Linked DNA regions of Homo sapiens: regions 1, 3 and 4 are each linked to region 2. The links are contacts of gene promoters, found by promoter capture Hi-C in human tissues and cell types (Jung and others, 2019). All regions are on one chromosome and are shown on one strand. Each heading gives the region's core, a stretch centred on a gene start or on the middle of the fragment in contact. The rest is flanking DNA. Distances are from core to core; before and after follow the strand shown.

The links. Contacts are between HindIII fragments. The study calls those that stand out against the background at their distance.
Region 1: a contact is called between a fragment that was not itself captured here and the fragment with the promoter of C9orf72 in region 2, in 1 of the 25 tissues and cell types used here (dorsolateral prefrontal cortex).
Region 3: a contact is called between a fragment that was not itself captured here and the fragment with the promoter of C9orf72 in region 2, in 1 of the 25 tissues and cell types used here (dorsolateral prefrontal cortex).
Region 4: a fragment that was not itself captured here is called in contact with the fragment with the promoter of C9orf72 in region 2 in 1 of the 25 tissues and cell types used here (dorsolateral prefrontal cortex).

Annotation. Positions count from the first base shown.
Region 1 is chr9:29,216,690-29,220,862 of GRCh38, reverse strand. No RefSeq gene overlaps it. Among named protein-coding and RNA genes, the nearest start is that of LINGO2, 5.2 kb to the right of the region's middle. The HindIII fragment of the contact is 4,288 bases long and covers 1-3,423 here.
Region 2 is chr9:27,572,060-27,576,042 of GRCh38, reverse strand. C9orf72 (C9orf72-SMCR8 complex subunit) reads left to right here and starts at 2,562. Exons shown (of 11, transcript NM_018325.5): 1 at 2,562-2,612. RefSeq lists enhancers at 1,953-2,480, 3,079-3,168 and a silencer at 2,489-2,568. The HindIII fragment of the contact is 8,764 bases long and covers 1-3,983 here.
Region 3 is chr9:28,967,500-28,971,332 of GRCh38, reverse strand. The region is part of intron 1 of LINGO2 (leucine rich repeat and Ig domain containing 2); the gene reads left to right. Among named protein-coding and RNA genes, the nearest start is that of MIR873, 80 kb to the right of the region's middle. RefSeq lists an enhancer at 265-1,188. The HindIII fragment of the contact is 4,046 bases long and covers 536-3,833 here.
Region 4 is chr9:28,774,460-28,778,666 of GRCh38, reverse strand. All of the region lies in intron 2 of LINGO2 (leucine rich repeat and Ig domain containing 2), which reads left to right. Among named protein-coding and RNA genes, the nearest start is that of MIR876, 87 kb to the left of the region's middle. RefSeq lists an enhancer at 3,029-3,528. The HindIII fragment of the contact is 3,198 bases long and covers 1,174-4,207 here.

The DNA of each region.
Region 1 (4,173 bases), core at 30-2,529, 1.6 Mb before region 2:
AGTTAGTAACTACTTAAATTTTAGCTTAAACATCTGTCTGCAGTTACCACAATGACAGATGTCTCTTCTCTTCCTCCTACCCTCTGTCCCTATCTCATTTTTGAAAACTTTACACAGCTTTCGACCTCTTTGTTTGCATATTCAGGCTTCTGCCAAGTCTTCCTTTGCAATTCTGCTTAGAATATTTTTCTCTGGGTAGCATTCCCTGAACTACCCTGTCTGATCTTTCCCTGTTCCCATGTTCCCTAAAATGATTCAGAGGGCCCTCCTATGTGCTTCTACAGCACCCTTGTCCTAGACCTAGCAAGTCTCAGAGCCAGAATTCAAATCCAGGAGGTCTAACTCCAAAGACTGCAGATTAACCATAACACAGAGATGCATGAATTTGCAGATAAATTGCTTATAAACTGCCCATTATCATCAAGGTGAATTTTAAACTCCTTGTCCTGGTATGTGAGTTCATCAGCAGCTGGCCCCTAGATGACAGCTCCAGTGTCATCTTTCAACTGCCATTGCAAGAACTGCCTTATGTTTAAGATTTAAGGAAAAGGGAAATTTGAACCAAGGTAGAAGTGAAAGCTTTCTATTGTTGTTTCATTTTTATAATGTGCAACAGAGAATGGCATTTTGAAATTTTATAGGATGGCTTATGAATCCACTGACTGACAAATGGAGAGACAGTTGAAGAAAACAAACACCACTTCTTTGTAACAAATCAAATGGGCCAAAGTTGTTGTAAAAAGAAAGGAAAATTTATGATTCTTTTCCTGACCACACTACCTTGTCTGATTTCCTCCCTTGTCAAAAAAATATCAGAAATAGTCACCAGGACACCCACTTATATTAGGAGGATGACAAGTGGTAAATCACTGACACTTGAGTAGTTTCTTCAGCAAAACACTCCACTGCTTTGAAAGATATTTATTCAGACTCTATGTTTGATCTGTTTATTTCATTGTAGCATGTGTTTTGAACACTAGAATAATGACAGAATTGTAAGCAAGAGACTTAATTACAACATAATATTATTGTATAAAATAATAGTTTAGGTTAAAAGCAATGTGGCATAATGGTACTGAGTTGAGATTCTGTTTCTGTACTGAACCACTGCGAGACTTTGAGGAAACAATTAACTTCATGTTGATCATTAGCAGAGTAATAATAACATTGCCTAAGCCATGGAGTTGTTTTAAAAATTCAATAAAAGGCTGGGTTTGGTGGCTCATGTCCGTAATCCCAGCACTTTGGGAGGCCAAGGCATGTGGATCACATGGTCAGGAGTTCGAGATCAGCCTGGTCAACATGGTGAAACCCCATCCCTACCAAAAAATACAAAAATTAGCTGGGTGTGGTGGTGGGTGCCTGTAATCCCAGCTACTTGGGAGGCTGAAGCAGGAGAATCACTTGAACCCGGGAGGCAAAGGTTGCAGTGAGTGGAGATCACACCACTACACTCCAGCCTGGGTGACACAGTGAGACTATGTCCCAAAAAAAAAAAAAAAAAATTCAACAAGGTAACATACATAACGCAATTAGCACAGTGTGTGGCAAACAGGTATACTAAGTTGTCTCGCTACTGTCCATGGTTTTTATCCAGTCAGGATCCATGTACCGTTTTTGGCCTGTTGAGCCTGTAATCAACAGTAAAGCCAAGTCCCTGTTCTAACAGACCTTATAGCTAATATAGAACCTTCTGGTGTAGGTTAAAAAGCTGTGATCTAATGTTAGACAGCCACGGTTTAAACCCTGACTGTACCACTTAAGCAGCTATGTGACCTTGGCAAGGCTTTTTGACTTTTCTGTGACTGTTTCTTCATCTATACAATGAAGATAATTATTATTAGATTTGTTGTTAGGATTAAGTGAATAAATAAATCTAGTTCTCCTAGAGTATTTCTGGTACCTAAAAGGTGTCATTTAAGTTGCTTACTTTTTGAATTAAGCCATTTTTCACGCTATTTCTTAAGAGTGAATTTCTCAAATCAGACTAACATGAATCAGAGATCATAAGCAGTATTAGCCTAAACTAAATAATTTCAAAGGTACAAACAAAAGGCTTATCAAAAGTTTCAAAATAATGGCTCTGCAGGTCTTTCTTTCCTGTGAAAGCCACATCTCTTTAGCCCAGAATACATAAAGCCTCCAAGTGAGGCGTGCATGGTTCCTCATACAGTTGGTAATGCTTCAATTATAAAACATCTCCATTTTATACCCCAGCACTGCAAACACTATATGCCATTTTCCAGGAAGCCATCCCTTATAAATTCTGGTTCTATCTATTATAGGTAATCCTTAGTCAGATATCCTACTAAGGGCCCAAAGACAACCCTCTTCCTTCTAGCAAATACCATTAGTCTATTTACCCAGGGGAGGTAGAATTGACAAGGAGATTAGACCTGCTCACTTGTTATGGACTAAACGTTGTACCTTCTTCCCACCCCAAATTCATGTGCTGAAGCTCTAACATCTAATGTGGTGGTGTGTAGAGATGAGACCTTTGGGAGGTAATTAGGGTTAGACAGGTCATGTGAGTGGGACCTTCATGATAGGATTAGTTGCTATATAAACTGTGGCTGAAATGTCTCTGTTTCTTTTTCTCTCTTCCCCCCAACACACACTGAGAAAAGGCCATGTGAGGACATAGTTAGAAGGCAGCTGTATGCAGGCTAGGAAAAGAGCCATCACCAAGAACCAAATTGGCTAGCATCTTAATCTTGGCCTTCCAAGAACTGTGAAAAATGTTTCTCACAGAACTCCAGAACTGTGAGAAATACATTCCTACTATTTAAGCTACCCATGCGGTGGTATTTTGTTACAGTAGTCTGAACTAAGAAACCCCTTTTTGCTTCTTTCCCTCAAGGTCTCTCCCTGGCAGGAGTAAATGAGCAAATGTATTGCAGGCCAGGTTATTTCACAACTTTCACCTACCCTTTTTAAAAACAACAACAACAACAGCAACAAACATCTTTTTTAAGTAAAAGGCGGAGATACATCTGTTATACTTTTCTTTCCATGCAACCCCTCAAAGGCACTCTTTTATTTTATAAGGTAAAACTTACACACGGTTCCAAAATCAAAAGAACATAAAAAGTCTAACCTCTACCTTTGATACCATCTGCCCACTTACACCATGACCCCAACCAATTTTATTAATTTTTGGAGACAACACCTTGCTTCACCTTGCAATTTTCACCTAAAAATATCATGGAGACCTTTTTATACCAATTAAGGAGAATTTCCTCATTATTTTACATAGCAGCTTAATCTTCCATGATATGGATATTTTGTATTTGTACTGTAATGATCCAAGGTATAAAAGATGTTTTATAATATGAGCTGTTGAAATTGACAACTATAACACATTTCTATGGCATGTTCCTATGTCATTCTGTATTCAGTGTTGTCTGTGTTCTGAGGCTTTTATTTTTATTAGTTTTAAAATTGTGGCAATTAGCCAACATGAGATCTGTCCTCTTAATACATTTTTAAGTGTATAATACAGTATGGTTAATTATAGGCACATTATTGTACAATAGATCTCTAGAATTTATTCATCTTACACAACTGAGATTTTATAATAGCCTCCTCTGTTTTACATAAGAGTATCAACATGGAAGTAAACAATAAAAAGTTTTCTATATCCATAAAATTCCCAATGGCCTGACTCCCCTCTCTGAAAGGAAACCCATAACTCAGCATTTGGCATTCCCATGAAAATAATGCCAAGAAGACACTCTCCTATTTTAACCCAATAAGAGAAGTAAACTGGTCCTGTGTTTTGATACTCAAATAGATATTGACTCGATTGCATGAGAGGTAAGGAACTCATTTTTAAATTTGCCTCTTTTTAGCATTAACAACATATAAATTCCTTTTAGCCTTGAATAATTGAAAATGTGGGGACCTGGCTATTTGAACAGAGCAAAATGATGAATAGTGCAGGCTTCAGAGTCAGAAAGATACTGTGTAGGTTCCATACTTAATTGTGACAAAACAGATTTGTCACCTTAGGTAAATTTGCATAAGCCTCAATCTCCCTGTAATTTGAGGACATAAAATTTAGGTAAGCAGGTTGTAAACAGGATCAACTGATATAATGTACATAAATCACATTACATAGTCATTAAGTCATTACTCAATACATGGTCGCTTTCATCATCATCATCATCATCA
Region 2 (3,983 bases), core at 1,313-3,812:
GACTGCCCGGCTGGCTTTCAGACTTGCAATGGGGCCCTATAGCCTCTTTCTTTTGGCAGATTTCTCCCTTTCGGAATGGCAGTATCTGCCCAATGCCTATACCCCCATTGTATCTTTGAAGCAATTACCTTGTTTTTGATTTTACAGGTTCATAGGTAGAAGGGACTAGCTTCGTCTCAGGTGAGACTTGGGACTTTGGACTTTTGAATGAATGCTGGATCGAGTTAAGACTTTGGGGAACTGTTGGTAAGGCACGACAGTATTTTGCAATATGAGAAGGACATTAGATTTGGGAGGGGCCAGAGTTGGAATAACATGGTTTGGATCTCTGTCCCCACCCAAATCTCATGTTCAACTGTAATCCCCAGTGTTGGAGGTTGGGCCTGGTGGGAGGTGAGTGGATTATGGGGTGGCTTCTAATGGTTTTGTACAGTCCCCTCTTGGTACTATATAGTGAGTTCTGACAAGATCTAGTTGTTTAAACGTATGTAGCACCTCCCATTTCTCTCTTCCCCCAGTTCCTGCCATGTGAAGTCTGGGGTCTCCCTATGCCTTCCATCATGATTTTAAGTTCCCTATGGCCTGCCCAGAAGCTGATCCAGCCATGCTTCTTGTACAGCCTGCAGAACTGTGAGCCATTAAACTTTTCTTTATAAATTACCCAGTTTCAGTTATTTCTTTATAGCAGTGTAAGAATGGACTAACACAATTATTAACGCTAGTCCTCATGTTGTACATTAAATCTCTAGATGTATTAGACGTAACTGCAACTTTGTACCCTACCCTACAATTTTCTTTCCCCCCAAGCCCCCCAACCAAGGGTCTACTCTGTTTCTATAAATTCAGTTGTTTTTTAATTCCACGTATAAGTGAAGTACAACTCAGTGTAGAAACTTGGTAAATGCTAGCTACTTGTTATAAGCTGTCAGTCAAAATAAAAATACAGAGATGAATCTCTAAATTAAGTGATTTATTTGGGAAGAAAGAATTGCAATTAGGGCATACATGTAGATCAGATGGTCTTCGGTATATCCACACAACAAAGAAAAGGGGGAGGTTTTGTTAAAAAAGAGAAATGTTACATAGTGCTCTTTGAGAAAATTCATTGGCACTATTAAGGATCTGAGGAGCTGGTGAGTTTCAACTGGTGAGTGATGGTGGTAGATAAAATTAGAGCTGCAGCAGGTCATTTTAGCAACTATTAGATAAAACTGGTCTCAGGTCACAACGGGCAGTTGCAGCAGCTGGACTTGGAGAGAATTACACTGTGGGAGCAGTGTCATTTGTCCTAAGTGCTTTTCTACCCCCTACCCCCACTATTTTAGTTGGGTATAAAAAGAATGACCCAATTTGTATGATCAACTTTCACAAAGCATAGAACAGTAGGAAAAGGGTCTGTTTCTGCAGAAGGTGTAGACGTTGAGAGCCATTTTGTGTATTTATTCCTCCCTTTCTTCCTCGGTGAATGATTAAAACGTTCTGTGTGATTTTTAGTGATGAAAAAGATTAAATGCTACTCACTGTAGTAAGTGCCATCTCACACTTGCAGATCAAAAGGCACACAGTTTAAAAAACCTTTGTTTTTTTACACATCTGAGTGGTGTAAATGCTACTCATCTGTAGTAAGTGGAATCTATACACCTGCAGACCAAAAGACGCAAGGTTTCAAAAATCTTTGTGTTTTTTACACATCAAACAGAATGGTACGTTTTTCAAAAGTTAAAAAAAAACAACTCATCCACATATTGCAACTAGCAAAAATGACATTCCCCAGTGTGAAAATCATGCTTGAGAGAATTCTTACATGTAAAGGCAAAATTGCGATGACTTTGCAGGGGACCGTGGGATTCCCGCCCGCAGTGCCGGAGCTGTCCCCTACCAGGGTTTGCAGTGGAGTTTTGAATGCACTTAACAGTGTCTTACGGTAAAAACAAAATTTCATCCACCAATTATGTGTTGAGCGCCCACTGCCTACCAAGCACAAACAAAACCATTCAAAACCACGAAATCGTCTTCACTTTCTCCAGATCCAGCAGCCTCCCCTATTAAGGTTCGCACACGCTATTGCGCCAACGCTCCTCCAGAGCGGGTCTTAAGATAAAAGAACAGGACAAGTTGCCCCGCCCCATTTCGCTAGCCTCGTGAGAAAACGTCATCGCACATAGAAAACAGACAGACGTAACCTACGGTGTCCCGCTAGGAAAGAGAGGTGCGTCAAACAGCGACAAGTTCCGCCCACGTAAAAGATGACGCTTGGTGTGTCAGCCGTCCCTGCTGCCCGGTTGCTTCTCTTTTGGGGGCGGGGTCTAGCAAGAGCAGGTGTGGGTTTAGGAGGTGTGTGTTTTTGTTTTTCCCACCCTCTCTCCCCACTACTTGCTCTCACAGTACTCGCTGAGGGTGAACAAGAAAAGACCTGATAAAGATTAACCAGAAGAAAACAAGGAGGGAAACAACCGCAGCCTGTAGCAAGCTCTGGAACTCAGGAGTCGCGCGCTAGGGGCCGGGGCCGGGGCCGGGGCGTGGTCGGGGCGGGCCCGGGGGCGGGCCCGGGGCGGGGCTGCGGTTGCGGTGCCTGCGCCCGCGGCGGCGGAGGCGCAGGCGGTGGCGAGTGGGTGAGTGAGGAGGCGGCATCCTGGCGGGTGGCTGTTTGGGGTTCGGCTGCCGGGAAGAGGCGCGGGTAGAAGCGGGGGCTCTCCTCAGAGCTCGACGCATTTTTACTTTCCCTCTCATTTCTCTGACCGAAGCTGGGTGTCGGGCTTTCGCCTCTAGCGACTGGTGGAATTGCCTGCATCCGGGCCCCGGGCTTCCCGGCGGCGGCGGCGGCGGCGGCGGCGCAGGGACAAGGGATGGGGATCTGGCCTCTTCCTTGCTTTCCCGCCCTCAGTACCCGAGCTGTCTCCTTCCCGGGGACCCGCTGGGAGCGCTGCCGCTGCGGGCTCGAGAAAAGGGAGCCTCGGGTACTGAGAGGCCTCGCCTGGGGGAAGGCCGGAGGGTGGGCGGCGCGCGGCTTCTGCGGACCAAGTCGGGGTTCGCTAGGAACCCGAGACGGTCCCTGCCGGCGAGGAGATCATGCGGGATGAGATGGGGGTGTGGAGACGCCTGCACAATTTCAGCCCAAGCTTCTAGAGAGTGGTGATGACTTGCATATGAGGGCAGCAATGCAAGTCGGTGTGCTCCCCATTCTGTGGGACATGACCTGGTTGCTTCACAGCTCCGAGATGACACAGACTTGCTTAAAGGAAGTGACTATTGTGACTTGGGCATCACTTGACTGATGGTAATCAGTTGTCTAAAGAAGTGCACAGATTACATGTCCGTGTGCTCATTGGGTCTATCTGGCCGCGTTGAACACCACCAGGCTTTGTATTCAGAAACAGGAGGGAGGTCCTGCACTTTCCCAGGAGGGGTGGCCCTTTCAGATGCAATCGAGATTGTTAGGCTCTGGGAGAGTAGTTGCCTGGTTGTGGCAGTTGGTAAATTTCTATTCAAACAGTTGCCATGCACCAGTTGTTCACAACAAGGGTACGTAATCTGTCTGGCATTACTTCTACTTTTGTACAAAGGATCAAAAAAAAAAAAGATACTGTTAAGATATGATTTTTCTCAGACTTTGGGAAACTTTTAACATAATCTGTGAATATCACAGAAACAAGACTATCATATAGGGGATATTAATAACCTGGAGTCAGAATACTTGAAATACGGTGTCATTTGACACGGGCATTGTTGTCACCACCTCTGCCAAGGCCTGCCACTTTAGGAAAACCCTGAATCAGTTGGAAACTGCTACATGCTGATAGTACATCTGAAACAAGAACGAGAGTAATTACCACATTCCAGATTGTTCACTAAGCCAGCATTTACCTGCTCCAGGAAAAAATTACAAGCACCTTATGAAGTTGATAAAATATTTTGTTTGGCTATGTTGGCACTCCACAATTTGCTTTCAGAGAAACAAAGTAAACCAAGGAGGACTTCTGTTT
Region 3 (3,833 bases), core at 1,309-3,808, 1.4 Mb before region 2:
CCTGGCTTGCTTAGTGGTCTATGCCACTGAGGCCAAGATAATACCTGAAGCCAGCAAGTCTCAGAGGCTCACCTAAGGCCCTTGACATATTACCTGGGTATTACTTTTGATTATTCAAGGCCCAAGGGTCTTCACTTAGCAGATGATGAATGCTGTCAGGACTGGGTTTTTTCCCTTTAAGGCAGTGAGTTCTCTTCTTGCCCAGGGTGCGTCTGGAAATATCGTCCAGGAACTTGGGCCTGGAACAGGGTTCTCATAACTCTGACCAGTTCTGTATCCTGCTGTGGCTGAGCTGGTATCCAAGAAGCAAGGCAGTCCTCCTGCACTCTTCCCTTTCCTCTCCTCAAGGGGAAAGAATGGGTCTCTTTTGGAGCTGCAAGCTGCACAACCTGGGCTTTAGGGACGAGTGATGCCAGTACTTCCTTAACTGCTCTGGCTGTTGCCTCAATAGGTGGTGTGCCCTCCTCGTCCACTGTCTCTGGGCCCAGTTCATCACTAGGACTCCTGTAAAAGTTGCAGTCCTTGTCGCCTAGACTGCCTTTCAAGTTTACTCAGAGATCCATAGCACTTTAGCCTATTGTGTCAAGGATCGCAGGAACTCAAGTTCTGACTTCTGGGATTGGCAATTCCCTTTTGGCTAGGGCTGGTCTAAATGTTCCGGTCTGTGGGTGGATGTCAGCTGAGTCTGGTCTAGTTTTCTTTTCTGCTCTAACAACACGGCCCAGAGTTCAATGCCTCATAACTGCTGTGCTCTCCCTCCCTCAGCACACTGAAACACTCTCCACACCCTGCCACTGCTGGGGGGTGGGGGAGGGGTTGCATTAGCGATTCGAGATTTTTTCTACCTCTTCATTGCCTCTTTCATGGATAGGATATTAAAACTAGGTAGTGTGAGTGCTCACCTGATTTTTTGTTCTGATGAAGGTGCTTTTCTTGTGTAAATACTTGTTAATTTGGTGTCCTTTTCAGGGGGACCATTGGTGGAATCTTGTATTCTACCATCTTGCTCCCTACTCCAAGGTGAGGTTTTGAAATGCAAATGAAATGTCTTCCTTTTCCTAAAAGCAGTTTCTTCACTTGGTTTCCAGTAGTCTAGGCCCTTCAGTAGCATGTCTCATCAGCCACTTCTTTTCAATCTCTTTTGCTCACTCTTCTTTTCTCTGGCCTTCCTAACACTGATGTGCCCTAAGCTTAGTGCTAGGACCTCATCTCTTCTCTTCACTATTATTCCCTTCTCTTCCCTTTCTTCCCCTTCCTATCCTTCTTTTCCCACGTACACTGTCTTCCTTTGTGAACACATCTCATTGTCAGAAATCCGAAGTATATGCTGATGAATCATAAACACATATTTCTAGATCAAACTCTCTTCTGTGCTCCGGATTTCTAGATGTAACTGCCTACTTAAATGTCTAATAGACATCCTAAACTCATTACAAAGAAACATGATATTTTAATTTTCTAAAGGAAAACAAAAACAAAAACAAAACTTTTGCTTTAGCTACTGTCTGCTTCATTTCATTTAATGGTAACTCCACTCTTGGGTGCTCCATGGCAAAATCCTAAGAATCATTCTTGAATCTCCTCTCTTCCTTCATACCCACGTCAATTCATTAGCAAATCCTTCTAGTTCTTCTTGGAAACCATAATCAAAAGCCTGTTACTTTTCACTATCTGTACTACCATTACCCTGGTCCAAGTTATCAGGAACAGGGTAATGAATTATTAGAGCCACTTCCTGACTGGTTTTTCTGCTTTCACCTCTACCTGTTTTTAGTCTTTTCTCAAACAGAAGCCAAAGTCGTCTTTTAAATTTCAAACCAGCTCAAAAACATCTAATGATTTCTTATTTCTCTTCAGCTCAAAAGCCAAAGTAATACTATGTCCCGTTACCTTTTAGACTTTGCTTTCTATTTATGTTAATTTTCCTAGCCCTGCTTCAGTCTCAGTTACCAGCACAGGGCCCACTACCTGCCCCTGGTCTTTATACTTGCTGTTACTCTTGCTTGGATTTTTTTTCCTCAGATATTAGTCTTTCCTTTGAAGACTTTACTCAAGTGTTACCTTTTCAATAAGGGATGTGCTGACCACTCTGTAAAATTGTGTCACATAAGACATCCAATATGCCTTAATCTGCTCTTTTTATTTTTTTAACACAGTGCTGATCTTCTTCTAATGTATAAATAATTTACTACTATGCTATGCTTATTATTATTTATCTATAACCCCAGTAAAATGTGATCTCTACCAGGGCAAGTATTTTTTTCTTTAATGATTTTGTCTTACTTTCAAAAAAAATTTACATATAACTATTGATTGAATGAAGGCATCACTATGTTATATACTTGTGCTCCCACATTCTCTTTTATTTCTGACTTCTGATAAGAATCACTATGTTCCTTTGGGAGCATGTGTCTACTAGAAACTATTATTACCCATAGGCATATATCTTAATTGCACTCTGTCGTGGTTTGATAACAATAAAGATCTGATTGCCATGTCACATTTTTTCAAGGTATCATCAGCTGTGTTAAAATTGCACTTTATACATCAAAATTAATACAAGTTCCAAGAAACATGAAGATAATTCTTTGTTTTAAAAATGAAACTAGTTATGGAATCTGGGATATGAAGTTTAATACCTAAAAAAGGACTTCTGAGATCTAATTCATTCTCTGCATTTATATTGGAACACAGAGGTTAAAAGAACACCAATTCATCCAAAAGACATCTATTACATGCTATTAACATATGCCAGGCTCTGTCATAGGCTTTTGAAGTACAAAAGTGAAGTGTAACATTATTTTTACCTTTAAGAAGGTAGGGTAGCTTCTAATATTGTAAGTAAGATAGACAAGTAAACATTAATTTCATTACAATGAGATTTTTACTTTAACAAGAAACACCTGAAGAAACCTTGCTTGCAATTTAGCCCTGGGAAAGTCACTTGGGATCTACTGTGATTCTTCATCTCCTAGTTCATTGTAACAGGATAAAAGGGATCCAGGCTTTGTAACAAAGTAAAAGGAGATATAGCCCAGCCACTCCAGTTTTTGAAAGGGAAATGTCCTAATAATCAATTTCTAGAGCAAAAACTCGGCATGTCTATTTTCTGTAAGTCTAAAAGATCTGTTTAATTATTTATCAATTTTGTACCGATGTCTGTGATCTGTGGCTCATCTGTTAAATGTTGCAAATTTTGTTCTAGTTTTATAACATTCTTAGTGATTTCATTAGTCCATTATAAAGTTCAGATAAAAGTATGACTGAAAAGTCTACTTCAGGGTGTCAAATAATATAAACTTAAAAGTTCAATCCAATGTTCAATTTGGTGTGCAAGACTTCATTAATATATGTATGTTATTTGAATAAAACAAAGTAGTACTTACTTAATATTAGGGTTTTGATAAAACTTCCTTAAAGCTTCTTATGAAAACTTATTTGAAAATGATCAAGAAGTTGCATAAATCTTCTCTGTCTTCTCTCTTTCTCTTTCTCGCTCTCTGCTAGAGGTGAAAGAGAAGAAATAGATTGTATGCTATACATCTTACAGTTTTAGTGATATTAAAAACACCTGTTCCCTTCCTGTCTATCAGAAATACATCCTAACCTTGTCTGACAAGACTATGTTGATGAATTATAACATTTTTCCCTTAGATATCTAGAGTCAACTCAGACTAATGGTCAATCTTGTTGCCAGGGGGAATAAAAGGTGATAAAACATAACTGAATGATGTAGGTGGCAAAAAGTCAGAAATTCAACAGTAATAACATGATCATCCCATGCAACTAGCTTCTCTCTCTAAAAGAAAAGGTGACTGAAATGTGGAGGAATG
Region 4 (4,207 bases), core at 1,523-4,022, 1.2 Mb before region 2:
GAATAATCTTAAGTAAAAGCTTGCCTTTCACTTTTCAAAAGTAAGATTGTCCCTGTGCTCATACTCTGGCCTTTGTAAATGAACTGAAAATAATTTGTATGCAGTTTCTCTGAACTTCTAGTATGTCATCAGGATTTAGTTCAACTTAATAGTACTTTTGAGAGAATTAAATTTAGAAAATAGCTGTATAGTGTTGATGCATTTGTAGTAGTAAGGTGGTGTCTTCAGTAAAGGAAAAAGTTGGCAACGAACCTTACAACACCTCCCTTGTTTCCTTGACCACTTTGATTTATAGTTTTCCCAGAAGAATACTTTTTCTGAGTTACTGATAAGAAAAAAAATCACATAAATTATTTAATCCATCCTTTTCCTTATGACTTATGAAGGTCTTACCCAAATCTTAACTTAGAGTGGCAAGAGGAAACATTTTATCTAAAGTAAAAGATTTAAAATAACATGGAAATATACTATTAGTTTAAAAGAGAAGGAGAAAATAAATTAACCCAATGAAGGAACTGCTTGCTTAAGTAGGAGTCAAAAGTGTGGAGTTATAGTCAACCATTCAGTAAAGGATAATTGCTGAAGCAATTAATCTTTATATGCAGAATGCTTCTATGCCACTATCAATCATATCAGAAAGACCCACATGGACTATGCACTATAGAGAAGGGTCCTCATGGTACCCATCAAAACTCGACATTCATTATTGCTCTCTAATGTAGCAAGAAGGCAGAAGGAACTATGGGATGTGCTGTCAGAAAAAGAGAAATCAGGATTTTAAAATGAAATAAAAAAGGATTTAATACCTTAAATTTATACACTGTCTTATTTGTGGAAGTCCCTTGCTTTGGCAGCTTATCAGAGCCAGCATAGTTATGGCCAGGACTTAACACGAGCAACTCAGCCACTGATGGGTCACAAATTTATAATGTCTCCTACCCACATCATGAGATTTTCCTTATTCTGTTCTCTGTCTTAGACCAAAAGATCTTTCTGTGAGATTATATGACGCACATTCCTGCACCTCTCTTCTCTTAAAGTAGAGTACCCTTTGCCTGTAACTCTCTCGTATTAAAATAGTGAAATCAATATATATCTTTCTGGAGAATTTGTATAAACACCTCACTGGCACACAGTTTGAGCTACAGAAAACTTTGTTTTTCCCAATACCTGATCTTGTATCGCCTCATATCTCTTTTATCGTCACTTGAGCTGTTGCTCCAGCTTTCAACAGCTTAGAAAACAGAATGGGAATTTTAGTGCCTAGAATGTAAACTGGTGGTTGAGTATCTTAAAATAGGACCCTGCCTACTTTTCTTCAGTTTTAGAGGTATTGTTTCAAGTTTCTATGCCTCCCTTTCTTCTGAAATAATGATTGTTTTTATTCAGTCTCAATTGTTCAACATGCATATAATTCATCAAATATTTACTGAGTGTATTAATCCCTTTTTACATTGCTAGAAGAGCTACCCGAGACTGGGTCATTTATGAAGAAAAGAGGTTTAATTGACTCACAGTTCCACAGACTGTAGAGAAGCATGATTGGGAGGCCTCAGGAAATTTACAATCATGGCGGAAGGGGAGGGGAAGAAAGCGCGTCTCACCAAGGCAGAGCAAGTGGGAGAGGGAGCAAAGGGGGACGTGCCACACACTTTTAAACAACCAGATCTCGTGAGAACTCACTATCATGAGAACAGCAAGGGGGAAATCCAAGGGGAAATCATCACCTCCCGCCAGGCCACTCCTACAATTTGACAAGAGATTTGGGCAGGGACACAAATCCAAACCATATTATGGAGTAACTTCTGTCTGACAAGTTGACTGAAAAAAAAAAAAGAGGCAGCTGTGTGACTGGGGTTCTATATACTCTATACTTCCTCTGTTCTGACACAAATCTCACTCATCGTTATTGCTTATTTACTTGACCAGTGGTGTTCTTTGACTTACAATAACCTTTGAAAAGGAAAGACAGTGTCTGTTTAGTTCATCATTGTATTTTCTGTGCTTAACATGGTACCTGGTATGCATCGTGCCCTTAACAATTTTTGTGGAATAGAGAGAGGGAGAATGCATGAAAGGAAACAGCTCCAGCATGGTTACCAGCTCATAATATTTTTTCTTTTGAGAAGATACTCTAGGGAAGGATTATAGCTACTGGTTAAATTAGTAATATTTGAATATTGAATTTGAGTAAACTTTCTGCATTGTTAGTTTTCATTATTTAGTTTTTGCATAATTCTAAAGGACAGGCAGAACAATTAAATGGCCATTTCTAGAGTTACAATTTAGAGTCAGTTATTTTGATTCAAAATGTCTGTAAAATAAAGCTTTTGTTCATTTGATTCATGGGCTAGCACATTAAAGTATAAGAAGGCAGAAAGAAAAAGAGAGAAAAAAATTGTGATAGCCTCCTTTTGGCTACTGTTTCTCATCTTTCACCACTTAAGTGGTCGTTCAACCATTCTCCTATCCTAAGGATCACTAAAGCTCACTGTTTCCTCACTGAAGCCAGGGGCTTATTCAAGAGTTAGATTTTGACTTATAACAAAAGTATTCCATAAACTGACTTTTTCAGGATCCTCAAAACCATGTTGTTAATAAACAAACCTACTCTTTCTTTGATGAACCCATCAAACACACACTCTGAGTGCTTGCCATGAGCCAGGGACTGGTGACATGAAAATTGCTGATTTCTGCCCTCAAGCACTTCAAATGTCCTTCTGGATTTTGAAGCAAAGGAGAAGATATATGATGTTACAATTTTTTTCATTATTCTCATTAAAGATGTCACCACTAGGGTCTCAAGGCATAACCAACTAGGTTTTCCAAACAAAGAGTGAACGAACAAAGTATATTTTCCCCAAATTTAGAAAATATCATAATATTTCAGAATGGCCAATAGTTTTGCATGGAGAATAAACTAAGAAGTACAAATCATTATCAGTATGCACATTTCTTAAAATTACATCTTTAATAGTTCTTAGCAGATGTCAATCATGAAATTCTTCTTCTCAGGCAGGACTCATGTAAGTTCATTGAACATTAGACTTATAATATTTAAGGCCCCATAGTCCAGTGATCTTACTTAATGTTCAGGAAGTTTGAGGCCCAAAAAGATATGTATTCTTTCCCATGGCATCTAGAACATAATTGACCAGGGAACTATGTGACTTCCAAACCATGCTGGTATTTAAAGAAGCCATTGGACCTTTTAGAAAATTATCAGGCAGGCCATGCACTCTAAAGATTCAGTACCTATGCACAGATAGTTTCCACTATCTTTGGGGCTCAGAAACCTGGCTCAGATAGCAGTGAGATTCACAAATGGAAAGAATCCCTGTTTGAAGGGAGTGAACCAATGATGTGCTTCTCCAAAATCAAGTGGTGGTACAACTGTGTAATGTAGGGAGCAGCTTTAGAAAATGGGTGGCTTTTCACAACCAAAACACCGGGACCTTTCCTGTGCTAAGAAACAGAGAATCCAGAGTTCGGCTCAGCAGTCAGTGACTGCCAAGCAAAGCTTCTCCTCTAAGGCACAACTCATAACTCTGTTTTGCCTCCTATGCTCACTTTGGCAGCATCACCAGCAATATCCGCACACACATTATTGGTCACTCCCCTCCCCTTCTTCCAGTTGACTCTGTTAACATGTTTATTGCCAGGCATACTAAAAAAGCAAAGCTTTGACAAACAATTTACTTATTCGACGATTTGTTCCTGTGTGGTCTTTGAAATGCAAAACACATAAACAGTCAAGTTTAAGGTCCAGCGCTTTCATTTTGGTTAAATATATACAGCTGTTAAAATAGGGGAAACATTAATTTTCCTTATTATTAATTTGATTTGAAAAACCCACAATTTTGTTGATTCCCACTGAAAAAATTGAACTTTGCAATACTTTGTGTTATAATGTAGATATTCCTGAACGTAATTTACTTTGATCCTTTACCACTACATATTGGATTGTAAATTAGCTATCCTCCCTGTGGATTTAGAAGTGCAGTCACTGTATCTGTAATCTGGTTTTAGCGACCTCTAGTGCCAGAAAAGTTTAATTGCTCTGCTTTTTTTTTTAAGTTCAGAGCTGACAAGATATCTTTTAAATCATGCACATCAGTGACATCACATATATAAAATGAGAATATACCAATCACATTTTTCTATAATGTGTGTGTGTATATATATGTGTGTGAAATGTGTATAGGCA